Regions from separate parts of the Homo sapiens genome. Here all the other regions are linked to region 3. Evidence: promoter capture Hi-C in human tissues and cell types (Jung and others, 2019). All regions are on one chromosome and are shown on one strand. Each heading gives the region's core, a stretch centred on a gene start or on the middle of the fragment in contact. The rest is flanking DNA. Distances are from core to core; before and after follow the strand shown.

Region 1 (4,170 bases), core at 1,421-3,920, 320 kb after region 3:
CAGCAGTTTACTTTTATATATAATAATTATATGTCAACATTTGAAATATATTTATGTTGTTTTGATGAATTGTAAACTAATAACAATTATAGCAATAAATCAGTCCAGATAAAAATTAATGCCTAGTACCCTATGGCTACTGAAAGTTTAAAAAGCTTGAAATTCCAATTTATGGGCATATTTCTGTGGCAAAGAATCAGGACTGAGTGATTGATTAATGCCTTGAAGCATAAAGATATTGCAACGGGATAAAATTCCATGGGAGAAGTACAATGGAAATGTGGGTTCAAGAAGAGAAAGAAATTATAAACAGTTCTGAAAGTTAAGCAACAGAGGTCCACATCCTTTTTAAGTCAATGTTGATGGTTTTCAACGCTCATGGTATTTAGACTCCGTTATTTATATGTAAAAGAGTACTCCAACAGTTCTTTAAATCCAATTTTTACAACATAAAGTATGTCTTTTGTGACTATATTAACATATGATGAAAAAATTAAATGTCAGCCAAAACATGTGTGCAAGAGAAATCTAGTTTTGTTTCAATTATTATATAAGCTACAGGAGAAGGGTCTGAAGTCCATTCTTCAGGTAACTTGGGTTTCTTGATATAAGACAGAACAGTTTTTCATTCTCTTTCACCTGTGCTTCTGTGAACAGGCAACCAGCCTCCAATGCCCGGTGTGGCTAAATGTTCCCTTTGCTGTCACCTGAGTGTTTTTAAGCTTCAGCAACATATGAACAGTTTTAAATTTATTTTTTATTTTTGGATACAGGGTCTCGCTCTGTTGCCCAGGCTGGAGTGCTGTGGTGCCATCATGGCTCATGGTAGCTTTGAACTCCTCAGCTCAAGCAATCCTCCTGCCTCAGCCTCCTGAGTAGCTGGGACTACGGATGCATGCCACCACACCTGGCTAATTTTTAAAATTTTTTTAGAGATGGAGTCTTACTATGTTACCCAGGCTGCTCTTGAACTCCTGGGCTCAAGCAACCCTCCCGCCTCAGCCTCCAAAAGTCTGGAACTCCAGGTGTGAGCCACCACGCCTGGCCTGGACCCCTTTTCAGGGGAAAATATGTTGTGGACCCCCTTTATTGCCTTAAATTTTTTTCTATAGTAATGCTGCTTACAAATACAAAACTCCATATTTAATCCTTTATACTCATAGCTCTTATGCATTGATTTATAAAAACAAATTTACAAGTCAAAAACAAATCACAGGCTGGGCATGGTGGCTCACGCCTGTAATCCCAACACTTTGGGAGGCTGAGATGAGCCGATCACCTGAGGTCAGGAGTTCAACACCAGCATGGCCAACATGGTGAAACCCTCTCTGTACTAAAAATACAAAAATTAGCAGGGCATGGTGGTGGGCGCCTGTAATCCCAGCTACTCAGGAGGCTAAGGCAGGAGAATCTCTTGAACCTGGGAGGCAGAGGTTGCAGTGAGCCAAGATCATGCCACTGCACTGCAGCCTGGGCGACAGAGCAAGACTTCGTCTCAAAAAACAAACAAACAAACAAAACAAATCACAAAGCCAACAAAATTAAAATGTTACCTCACAGGACTGTTGATCTTGTTTGTTGAAGCTAAATTGCTGCTCTCTATGAAACAGCACTCATTGCTGTGGCAGCAGTTTTGTTGTTTTGTTTAATTTTGACATCCCTGTATTCTTGGGGGGCATCTAATGGCTCAGTGATTTCCTTGCCTCTTCTCTAACTAGTTGAAATCTTTGTGTTCAGTTGGCACAAGGTGGTGTCACAGTTTCGTCTGCCAAGATCTCTCCTTTTCAGACCCCACTCTTCTGGCAGTAGACCAGGACAATTATATGTTCCTTGGTGACAAAAAGATTGTAAATACAAATGCAGGTACCTCACTCCTGGGCAGGGATTTAGTTTTGGAGTGGTCACCAAATGATGCTGCATTCACTTCTATTAAGATCTTTAAAAATTAGCATCAAAAAATATGTATTGTACGGAACTCATGGCCCCCACCACATCCTCAGACTCTTGGAGCCCTGTAGATGCCAGTGTGGGACACACACTGCAATCTCAGCTGTTACCCACAACCTGAATGGGTGCAGCGCTTACCAGTTTAGACAGGTCTGAGAAGACATGGAGGAAAGAGAGGTCATGAAATGGAATTTTCCATCTAAGCCACTCTAAGCAGGCCAGAGGCAAATCATCTTTGAATTGCCCAGGATGCCTGGCAGAGTGCCTGGCATGTATGGTAAGTACTTTATAGTTTGTTTGTTAAAGTGATTTGTTTGTTTGTTTCTGAGATGGAGTCTCACTCTTGTTGCCAGGCTGGAATGCAATGGTGTGATCTCGGCTCACTGCCGCCTCCACATACCAGGTTCAAGCAATTCTCTTGCCTCAGTCTCCCAAAGTGGCTGGGATTGCAGGCATCCACCACCACGCCGGGTTAATTTTTGTTTTGTTTTTGAGACGGAGTTTTGCTCTTGTTGCCCAGGCTGGAGTGCAATGGCGCAATCTCGGTTCACCGCAACCTCCACCTTCTGGGTTCAAGCGATTCTCCTGCCTCAGCCTCTCGAGTAGCTGGAATTACAGGCATGCGCCACTACACCTGGCTAATTTTGTATTTTTAGTAGAAACAGGGTTTCTCCAGGTTGGTCAGGCTGGTCTTGAACTCCTGACCTCAGGTGATCCACCCGCCTCGGCCTCCCAAAGTGCTGGGATTACAGGCATGAGCCACCGTGCCCGGCCAATTTTTGTATTTTTAGTAGGGACGGGGTTTCACCATGTTGGCCAGGCTGGTCTCAAACTCCTGACCTCAGGTGATCCTACTGCCTCGGCCTCCCTAAGTGCTGTGATTACAGGCTGTTAAAGTGATTTAAATAGAAGACTCAAGTTATTAAGTCACCCAGGATGGGCCTCTGATGATTGGCTTTGTTTCTAAATATCCCAAAAATAATTTATCTGGGTTTATTACCATATTATATATAATCCTAAGCTCCTCCTATATATTTATATATAATATTATAACACATTATATATTATATATATATTTCATATATAATATATAGTACATTAAATATATTTAATATAGGTACATTAAAATTATATTAAATATATATTAATTATAGTGAAGTAAAAATATTATATACTATACATGAGTTATAAATAATACATGTGTTATATAATATATAAAATTATATTATAACTCATAGATCATATGACATATATTATAGAGGCTGGGGTGGGGTGAGGCTCTGGTAGACTCATCTCGAAGCCACTGTGGTTTGGCAAGTGCACTTCCATTGTGTGTCTCCGGAGAGCATATCTGAAGGGGGCCATTGGAGGCTGGGGCCACTATTGCTAAGCGCCGGTGGGAATTTAAATCATTGGATGTGTTGTTCATTATTCCCAGTCCTGTCTGAGTCTGCCATGGAGAAAGGTGTTCTCAGCATTGACTCCCCAGCCTTTCTCCAACCTTACCCCAAGCTTTTGAATAATACATGTTTTCCTTGTCCGCAGATGATTTTCTCTTAAAAACATACGATGCCATCTAATCCCAAATGAGGGGCTAAATAGAACCCACACTTTTAAAAATAAAGTCATGTCTTTCCTATAATTTTTTAGCACTTAGTATATTTTGAGACTGTAACATTCTGGCACTCTTAGTTTTCTTCCAGAGACGTTATCAAGTTCTAAGTCATGTCGCTAAGTCAGCAACAAGCTTTCTTCCGTGCCTGATAGTCTAAGAACTCAACACACAGGCTTTAAAACTACATTACCTTGGTTTAAATCTCACTCTTGCAACTTATTTGTTCTCTGACTTGGGAAGGCCACTTAACATTTCTGAGCCTTAGTTTTCTCATTTCAAAAATGGTTGTTGAAAGGACTAGGGGAAATAATACTGATCAGGTTTTTAATCACCATGCCTGGCATCGCAAAGAGCTCAATAAATAATAGCTGTTTTTCTGTCATTGCCTCCTAAAATATATAAATTCACATATGATTTTGGGAATTGAGTTCCTCGAATGAGATTTCCAAAGACTTTATTGGATGTAATTCATTTTCTAGAACTTAATTTCTTCCCAGGTCCTTCCAGAATGCAGCATAGTAACATCAACACACACCTATATACAGTATCCTGAAACCAGAACAGCCGTTTTACTGCACTGCTGTTTGCTCATAAAGCAGTCACATTGT
Region 2 (4,342 bases), core at 9-2,508, 390 kb after region 3:
GCCTCCAGGCTTTCGAAGAGGTGCGTCTGTAGCCACCTCTATCACATTGTGGCTCCTTTCCTGGGGCGCAACAGAGCCATTGGCCCTCCGGCGCCCAATGGTCCCAACGGCAGAGAAGTCTGCCTTCCTGGGCAGACCTGGCTCATCCTCGTTGGCGCTGATGACAATGCCCTCATCACTGGCCTCTGCTGGCACCTGAAGCAGGTGCTGCTGTTTCTCCTTCTCCTTGGCCCGGCTGCAGTGGATGTCCACCTCCACCTCCACCCGGCTGCCGTTGGTGAAGACGCCCTCGATGGGCTCCTCATCGTCACTGTCAAGGCCGTTGTCGGAGAAGGCGCTAGAGAACGTGGCGCTGGATAGCTGGCGCTGGAAGGAGTTGGACAGACAGATGGGGTGGAGCATGCAGCGCTGCTCACTGGGGTAGGCAGGGCTGTTCTCGCTTAGGGCTCCGGGCGGGGGCTCATCGGAGGCTGTTGACCCCACCTCGCTGCTCATCTCAGAAGTGGAGAGCTCACTGCTAATCTCGGAAGCCATGCCGCTGCTGGAGGACGGCACGCCCAGCCCATCTGAGGGCCGATCCTTGATCACCATGTTCACTGAGGGAGGAAAGATGCCAGGACTGGGTGGTGGCACAGCCCCACCGGCGCTGAGCTCGCAGCAGCAGAAGCTGTCCTCAGTGACACTGAGCTGCACCACCACAGCGCTGATGCTGTCGTGGCAGCCGTAGCTCTGGGCCAGGGTACACAGCTTCTTGGCAGCAGCCAGGGCATCGGGCACGTTGCGCACGGCTTCCACGGCCTCCTCGACGGACAGGCTGTCCCACAACCCCTTACTGCCTAGGATGAAGAACTCATCCTGGGGAGTCAGGAGCACGGACTGCACGTGGGGGCGAGGCACCACACTGGGATGGAGGAAGGTGTAGCCCAGGATGCGCGTGGACTCAGTCACTCCGTTCACCTTGCCATCCTGGAAGAACAAGGGTTTGCAGACAGACAGTTAATACAGAGCACCTGCGGCAACTGTGCAGGTTCCCTGCGGGTCCCTCGACTGTCTCGACTGTAGGACCACAGAGAAGTGCTGTGTGGCCCACAGAGGAAAGAAGGGCTCACTCTGTAGTGAGTAGTTAATGTGCACCTGTCATCAGAAACCCCAGGTAGTAGGCCTGGGCAGGTAAGGAGCAGTAGGGACAAAAGGAAAAGATTTCGGTTATGTGTGTTACTGGGACCCCATTCACACTAGGTCACAAGTCCTGCTGTTTATCTAAAGCAAGCCATCATCTAGCCTTACACAGCAAGCATAGCTGGCTAGCTCCTCCTGTAAACATGGGTTTACATCTTCCCTCCCTTGGTGAACATGGTGATCAAGGATCGGCCCTCAGACGGGCTGGGTGTAGGAAGACTCTGAGGTAGCAAGAGACTTTCTGATAGAAGCCAGTCCTGAGCAAAGACACATGACGCAGGCATATATCAAGACAATGCTCCTAAATCTTCCATTGCTCTCCATGATCACAAGAGGCAGTAGTGTCTAAAGGTCCAGAGAGGACTTGAAAGTACTTAAGCGGTGGAGAAAACCTTGGTTTGACTAGGTGGGTAAGAATGCTCATGTCAGGAGAACAGATGCTAAAGAAGAAATGCCAATTCTTACAACTTCCTTGAACTTGATTTCCTGTTGACCAATGGAGAAGGCAAGATCTGCTGGCTTTAGTTCAGCTGTGTGCATGCTATTTAAATCAATTACCAAAGTGCCAGACCACTTGCCAATAAAAAGACCTGGGTTTTTTTTTTTTTTTTTTTTTTTTTGCCACGTGTACCTGCTTGGTTCTTTATTCTTCAAATTTTGAGATTCTCAGGTCCATGACATACCTCTACATGCCCTAGTTTTAACACTTCTTTCCAGGAAAGGCTTCATTATGACAAATCCCTGTCTGGGATGACAAAGTGTTTCTTCCACAGAATATCCATTTCCTTTCCAGTCCTACCACTTCCCTTTATTTGGGATTTGGCAAGGTGTTTACTTGTCCTAGGGATGTCTTTCCCAGCTTCTCACACAACTTTGCCACACCACACTTATAAGCAGGTAAGCATTCCTATTAGTAAAATTAGTAAGATGGGCTTCAAGCACAACCTTAAACTGCCTTGATTCTACTGACATAATCTGTCCCCAAAGCATGGAATTTGGCAGAAACTGTTCTTGCTGTTCTGTCCATCCCTTTAGATTTCTCTCTATCAAAACCAATGGTTTTGTGATTCATGAGCAATGAAGCTTCCACCATGGGCTCCAGGAGTTCTGCTCCATTCGCTAATTCATCAAAGTGTCAGTCATCTGCCCTGTGCCTGAAAAAATGACGTGGGCAGACAGCAGTGACCTGCAAAGAAACATCTACCTTCAAGAGGTTTCCAGTCTTACATTGTTGATAAAACCCATAGAACCATGTACAGTTTGGGGTGGACTCTGGTGAAAGCTTATAGTCCAGTAGAGAAAAAAGACTGACTCCACACAGGCTTTGATGAGGGCCTTAAGAAAGAAACAGAAAGACTCAAGCTATACATGGGATTCTGTGCAAATGAGTCTGTGTGAATTTGTTCTCTGTCTATTCTTGGAGCAGAGAGGATGCACATGGATGGTAGACACTGTGCTAGGGAGCAGAAGACAGTCTAATGTGTACAGAATGCACTGATTTCAACTTTAGTTCAACATTATGCCAAACACAATTGAAGGTAAATGATTTCTGTGACCTACATGAATCATGGTTTGCACGTCAGACTTCTCTTGTTTTCTGTGCCTCGCCTCTTCCCTGCTTTTGTTTGCATTGCTTAATACTCAACAACGAGGTTTTGTTTTGTATTGTATTTTACTTCTCTTCCTTGAGACACGCCCTCCAAACACACACACCACAGTCTGTGTTGTGGAGACTGCCCTGTGCATTGTGGGGTGTTGAGCAGCATTGTCCTAGCAGCGCTGTAGGATGCTCAGTGGCCTCAATCCACTGCATGTCAATTGCACTCTCCGCCCCAGCTGTGATGACCAAAAATGTCTCCATATGTTGCCAAATGTCTTGTGGGGAAGCAAACTGCCCCCAGTTGAAAACTGCTTACTGTGTACTCAAATGGGACATGAGGTATGAACCAAAATAACAACTAGTACACTTACATAGACGTTCATAGTTTACAAGTCATACCAACCTTGTAAGATAGGACAGATGCATGATTATTCCCACTTTACAGATGAGAAAACTGAGGCTTAGAGAGGTTTAAAGGTCACAACCTACAAGTGGCAGAGCTAAGATATGAAAACTAGCAGTGTGATGTCAGGGGTAGAGCCCTCAACCACCAAAGCAGCCCTCTGCAGAGTGGCTGCAAACATGGAATGGGATCATGCCCATGAAGCACGCAGCACAGTGCCTGATGCAGAGAGGCAACCAACAAGCATATACATCATAATGTAAGACATCTGCTTTGTGATACTATGGATTTGGAATTCTAATGTCAAACCAACTTCAAAAGTGTTCTTTGAAGGCAAATGCTCCCTAGCTAGTTTCTGCTATGACCTGGTCTCCTCTCCTCTCCTCTCCACCATCCTGGGCAACACCCCTGTTTTCTCACCTCAGTGATAATGGCCTTGTGCTGTTTAATCCTCTTCAGCTCTTCTTCACAGCTCATGATGTAAGATCTGGACAGAGGCAGCGGCTTTCCATTTCGACAGAGAACTGTTTGGCACTTGCCCACATTAGCAGAGGTCAAGGTGAAGGATCCTCCTGGATCCACAGGGTCATGCTTGATATGACAAAGGACAGCGGCACCACCAAGCTTCTGCCCAGCAGTTCCAAGTTTCCTGGAATCCGAAGAGAGGGGGTGACACTCAAACACAGCCCATCAGTGCCAGTTCTGCAAATTCAACAGCAAGACCGCACCACTGGACAGGGCCAGGAAGGAGACAGCTGGGGATTCCACTCCGCCTCCTTCATCAAAGCACACACTGCTCTGCCTCTTTGATGAAAAGAGCCCCTGAATCTGACATCACACACATCCACACAGAGAGGCTCACAACTGGAAGACAGTATCACTGTACCATTAAAAGCCACAGGTGCTGCTCTGGAAGGCGGGTGCCCCTGGGCTGCTGTGTACAGCCTGCTACCCTCATCAACCACACTGCCCTATCAGCACACTCCAAAGACAGCAGGAAAATGACTTCTTTCTCCATCTGCTTCTCTAAATCCCCTCTGTCCCCAGGAAAGGAACATTGAAAAAACCATGTATGTAAGAGCAGGTATAAACACCCTACCCCACTGACAGGCACACTTTAGAAAAACCTGACAACCCTCTCCCCCTTATAAGGGTGTTTG
Region 3 (4,216 bases), core at 659-3,158:
GCTGTAAGTCAAGAAAAAAAGGAAAAGAAAAACTTTTTTTTCTCCTTCGCTCCCTAGTATTTCTAGAAACAACAACAAAAATGAAAAGCAAGTAAGCAAACAAAAATATGTGCCTCTATGCAAATTAAAATCACAATGAGACTTCACACCAACTAAAAAAGCTATAATCAGAAAGACGGATGATAACAACTGTTAGTGAAGATGTAGAGAAATTGGAACCCACATACACTGCTGGTGGGAACACAAAATGTTGTACTCACTTTGGAAAACTTCTGGCAATTCCTCAAATAGTTAAACATAGAGTTGCCGTAAGATGTAGCAACTCCCCTACTAGGCATGTACCCAAGAGAAATGAAACATAATGCCCACACAAAAACCGGTAAATGAATATTTACAGTTAGCATAATTCTAATAGTCAAAAAGTGGAAACAACCTAAATATTCCTCAATTGATGAATGGAAAATTAAAATGTCGTATAGTCATACAATGGGATATTATTTGGCAATAAAAATAAATGAAGTATTAACATGTAGTACTTCATATCATGGATGAACCTTGAAAACATTACAGTAAGTGAAAGATAGGATGAAAAAGGCTACATATTATATGATTCCATTTATGTGAAATATCCCGAATAGGCAAGATTATAGAGACAGAAACATGAGGGATTGCTTAGGCTTGGGCGGGGCTTGGGAGGAAATGGGTCGTGACTGCCAATGAGTATAGGATTTTGGGGGGTTGTGACAAAAATGTTCTAAAATTTATGGTAGTGATGGGTCTACAACTGTGACTATATTAAAGACAATTTATTATAAGCTTTATTTATTTATTTATTTTTGAGACGGAGTCTTGATCTGTCACCCAGGCTGGAGTGCAGTGGCGCGATCTCACCGCAATCTCTGCCTCCCGGGTTCAAGCGATTCTCCTGCCTCAGCCTCCAGGGTAGCTGGGATTACAAGCATACGCCACCATGCCCGGGTGATTTTTTGTATTTTTAGTAGAGACGGGGGTTTCACCATCATGGCCAGGCTGGTCTCGAACTCCAGACCTGAAGAGATCCGCCCGCCTCAGCCTCCCAAAGGTCGGGGATTACAGGCGCGAGCTACCTCGCCCGGCCTATTACGCACGTTAAATCGGGAATTGTATGGTATAGTACGTGAATGAGACCTTAATAAAGCTGAGTTGTTTGCGTTATTTATTTGTTTTGAACCTGCTTGGTAAAGATGAACTCTGAACTCAATGAAATTGAATTACCTTAGTGATTCCTCAAAACTCCCTGTTAAGGCTTTCCGGTCCTCTGAAAAGCGAAAGTGGGCCGTGACCATCTTCTAAAAACGCCAAAAAATATGGAATGGAGCCCGGGATTTCAGAGCGTAGTCGCTGGGCTCCCAGGCTGAGCCCGCTCCGGGAGCCTCCAGCCGCCCTTTCCGATGCTCCGGGGCCTCCGAGCAACCCAGCGGGCAGTCCCAAGCCGAGGGCTGAACTCCAGGGAGGAGCGCTCGTCACGCCCACACTGGAGGCCGTGGCAGGCCTGGAAACCCGCCCTGCGGGGTCCTAAGAAGCCATTCGAGCTCCCGAAGAGCGAGTCTTCGCAGCCCTTCCCGGCGCGCTCGCATCTGGCGCTGTCCGGAGCCCGCTCGCGACGCACAGGGACGGGAGGCCCGGTTTCCACGGGAGAGGCTGCGGACTGCGGGCCCCGTCCCGAGGCCGGGGGAGTGGGAGACACCCGGCGACCCCCGAGAGGCGATTCTGGCAGTGGTGGCGGTGGCGGTGGCGGTGGCGGCCTACTCGCCCCCTGGAAGCACCGCCCCGCCTGGGTGGCGCGCGCGCCGGCTCCTCCTCTTCCCCTCCGCCGCGGCCCGCCCCGGCCCGCAAACCCAAACACTCCAGGCGCCCGCCCGCCGCGCGTGATTCTCGCCTCGCCGCAGCCCAGCCCTGCGCGCCTTGCCCGGCGGCCCCCGCCCGGCCGCTCCGGGCCCCTGGCCCCGCGGAGCGATGCTGCTGCTGGCTGCCGCCTTCCTCGTGGCCTTCGTGCTGCTGCTGTACATGGTGTCTCCGCTCATCAGCCCCAAGCCCCTCGCCCTGCCCGGGGCGCATGTGGTGGTGAGTGGCCTCCTGTTGCTGCCCCCCGACTTACCGGCCCGCGCGGCCTTTCCGCCGCCGAGGCCGCGTAGCCTACGTCCCTTTTTCCAGGCCGCGGTCCCCAGGAAGGCATGGCCAAATGGGGAAGGTCACCTGCCGCCGTCCACCCCGGCGCTTTTCCCCCGGCCCCGGCACCCGGCCTCGCGGACCCGCCCTCCGCAGCCTCGGGCTCCTCCTAGGGCCGGAGAGCGTGCGACGGGGGACCCCGCCGGCCGCAGGGTTCCCGGGGCCCCAGGGGTTCTGTGGCTGCTCGTGAATCCATGCAACATCCCTGGGATGTGGATGTTTTGTCCTCAGTTTTTCCGATGAGTCAACTGAGGCACAGAGAGGCTGAGAAACTTTGCCAAGGACACAGCGGTCGGTGGTGTGCAGGGTGCGGCGCGCGGCCCCGGGCGGGGGCAGACAGCGGGGAAGTGGGGTCCCAGCCGCCGGGACCCGCCGAGGCAGCTCGGAACTGGAAGATGGCCTGTGCGAGTGACGGGAAGAGCCGCTGCCAGAGGATTCCAGGAAGTGACTCACCTGGGGAAACTGCTCAGAACCCAGCGGGCTGGCGGTGGTGGCTTAGCGGTATTGGGACGCCTGTCCCGTCTACACTGCTTGTCTCTGAGCTCAGCGTGGCATCTGCTGATTGCTGCTCCAATGCAATCCTTTGCTGTTTTCTAGTGGGAAGGATGAGCTAAACGACAAGGCTTGTGTGCGAGGAATGAAGGAGAGGTGGATAGGTGTGATTTATTTCTTGGCGGAAGCTCGCATATTCAGCGATCCCTGTTCTGCAAATGTGGCACCTTTCTTAAACAGAGAGAATGCCTCCTTGCCTGCGCCCAGCACTTTCCCGTTTGCAGTGGCTTTCTCACGAGCATTCTCGTTTGGATCTCCCAAACCCGAGGCACAGTGAGGCGAGGAGTTAGGAGTAAGGAGGGTTGGTTACAAAATTGGCCGCACACCTCTTCCTGTCCTATCTCTGCACCGGAGATCCGAGCCTCCCCGCTGAGCTGGTATAAAATAAGATGGTCGTTTTTCTTAGTATGCTTTAAATCTGTACAAGGGTTTGTGAATGAGAAAATGTATCTGTTTAATTTCTCCTTTGTAAAGCTATTAGCTTTTTCCAACACCTCCTGTTCCTAATGGGGAAAGAGTGTGGATTCATTACAAAAAATAAATAAGAGAAAGGCAAAACTTGACACTCTAAATTCTGAAAGTTTTACATCCGCAAGAGAACTGCTGCCTCAAAAGCGTGGCTTTAAACCTTGGATCCTTTCAGAGCTTGAGTTTATAGAGCATAACTTTGCAAAAACTAAAGCTAAACGCAGAATGAAAATTGGAATTCCTTATTTGTAAGACAGTTTCACTGAGCCTTGACTCCAGTCCTTCCAGCCCCATCCCGCGGCAGGTCATAGGTGAGATAATAAATGCTGTGTCTGTTCAGGTGGACCAAGAAGAATTTATTTTTACCATCCCGCTTTAATACGCAGGATTATTATTTCACACTCTAAGTAATGTGAGAATGACATGAATAGTTCACATGGTGTCACCATCTGTCTTCTTTTTTAATGTCATAAGAAGAGTGAAAAGTGTAATTGTTCTTGAGATTTGTTAGGAGTTGACTGTGGTATTGTTGGGAGAGGGAGCTGATGGTTAAACTGTCTGCCCATACATAATTAAGAACAAACTTATAACAATTGTTTCATTTTTAAAACAATTTTATATACTAGTGTTTTCTATCTAGTTACGGTAGTAAAATTGCAGGAAAAAAGCAGAAAATCACCCACCTCAGCCTCCGAAAGTGCTGGGATTACAGGCGCGAGCCATCGCGCCCGGCCAACAACAGCTATATTTTTACAGTAATCTGCTGATAACTGGCTGATTACCGACCAAATAAATCTCTTCAGTGGTGGCAGGTTGAAGCTAAAAAGAAGTAAGGGATGCCTATGAGTCCCATAGAGGTAGGTGCATTTGCGTAGGAGACACTTCCCAATGATGTTAAAATCCTAACATGGAGTCAGAGATCTTCCTCCCAGCATGATTTATGTATAACAGTGAATATTAGGAAAAATCTAAATGTCTGGTTATAGGG

What was found. The method cuts DNA at HindIII sites, captures the fragments that hold promoters and counts their contacts. A contact is called where the count stands out against the background at its distance.
Region 1: a fragment that was not itself captured here is called in contact with the fragment with the promoter of KDSR in region 3 in 2 of the 25 tissues and cell types used here (lymphoblastoid cells and spleen).
Region 2: a contact is called between a fragment that was not itself captured here and the fragment with the promoter of KDSR in region 3, in 2 of the 25 tissues and cell types used here (lymphoblastoid cells and spleen).

Annotation. Positions count from the first base shown.
Region 1 is chr18:63,044,595-63,048,764 of GRCh38, reverse strand. No RefSeq gene overlaps it. Among named protein-coding and RNA genes, the nearest start is that of BCL2, 270 kb to the left of the region's middle. The HindIII fragment of the contact is 4,462 bases long and covers 440-4,170 here.
Region 2 is chr18:62,974,886-62,979,227 of GRCh38, reverse strand. It overlaps PHLPP1 (PH domain and leucine rich repeat protein phosphatase 1), which reads right to left. Exons shown (of 17, transcript NM_194449.4): 16 at 3,603-3,831; 17 at 1-966. Among named protein-coding and RNA genes, the nearest start is that of PHLPP1, 260 kb to the right of the region's middle. The HindIII fragment of the contact is 3,752 bases long and covers 1-3,134 here.
Region 3 is chr18:63,364,898-63,369,113 of GRCh38, reverse strand. KDSR (3-ketodihydrosphingosine reductase) reads left to right here and starts at 1,908. Exons shown (of 10, transcript NM_002035.4): 1 at 1,908-2,103. The coding sequence starts at 1,996. It overlaps KDSR-DT (KDSR divergent transcript), which reads right to left and starts at 1,790. Exons shown (of 2, transcript NR_186602.1): 1 at 1,255-1,790. It overlaps LOC124904317 (a long non-coding RNA gene), which reads left to right and starts at 2,114. Exons shown (of 2, transcript XR_007066400.1): 1 at 2,114-2,864; 2 at 3,985-4,216. RefSeq lists silencers at 1,536-1,585, 1,696-2,145, 2,216-2,275, 2,626-2,675 and enhancers at 1,537-2,484, 2,524-2,818. The HindIII fragment of the contact is 17,335 bases long and covers 1-4,216 here.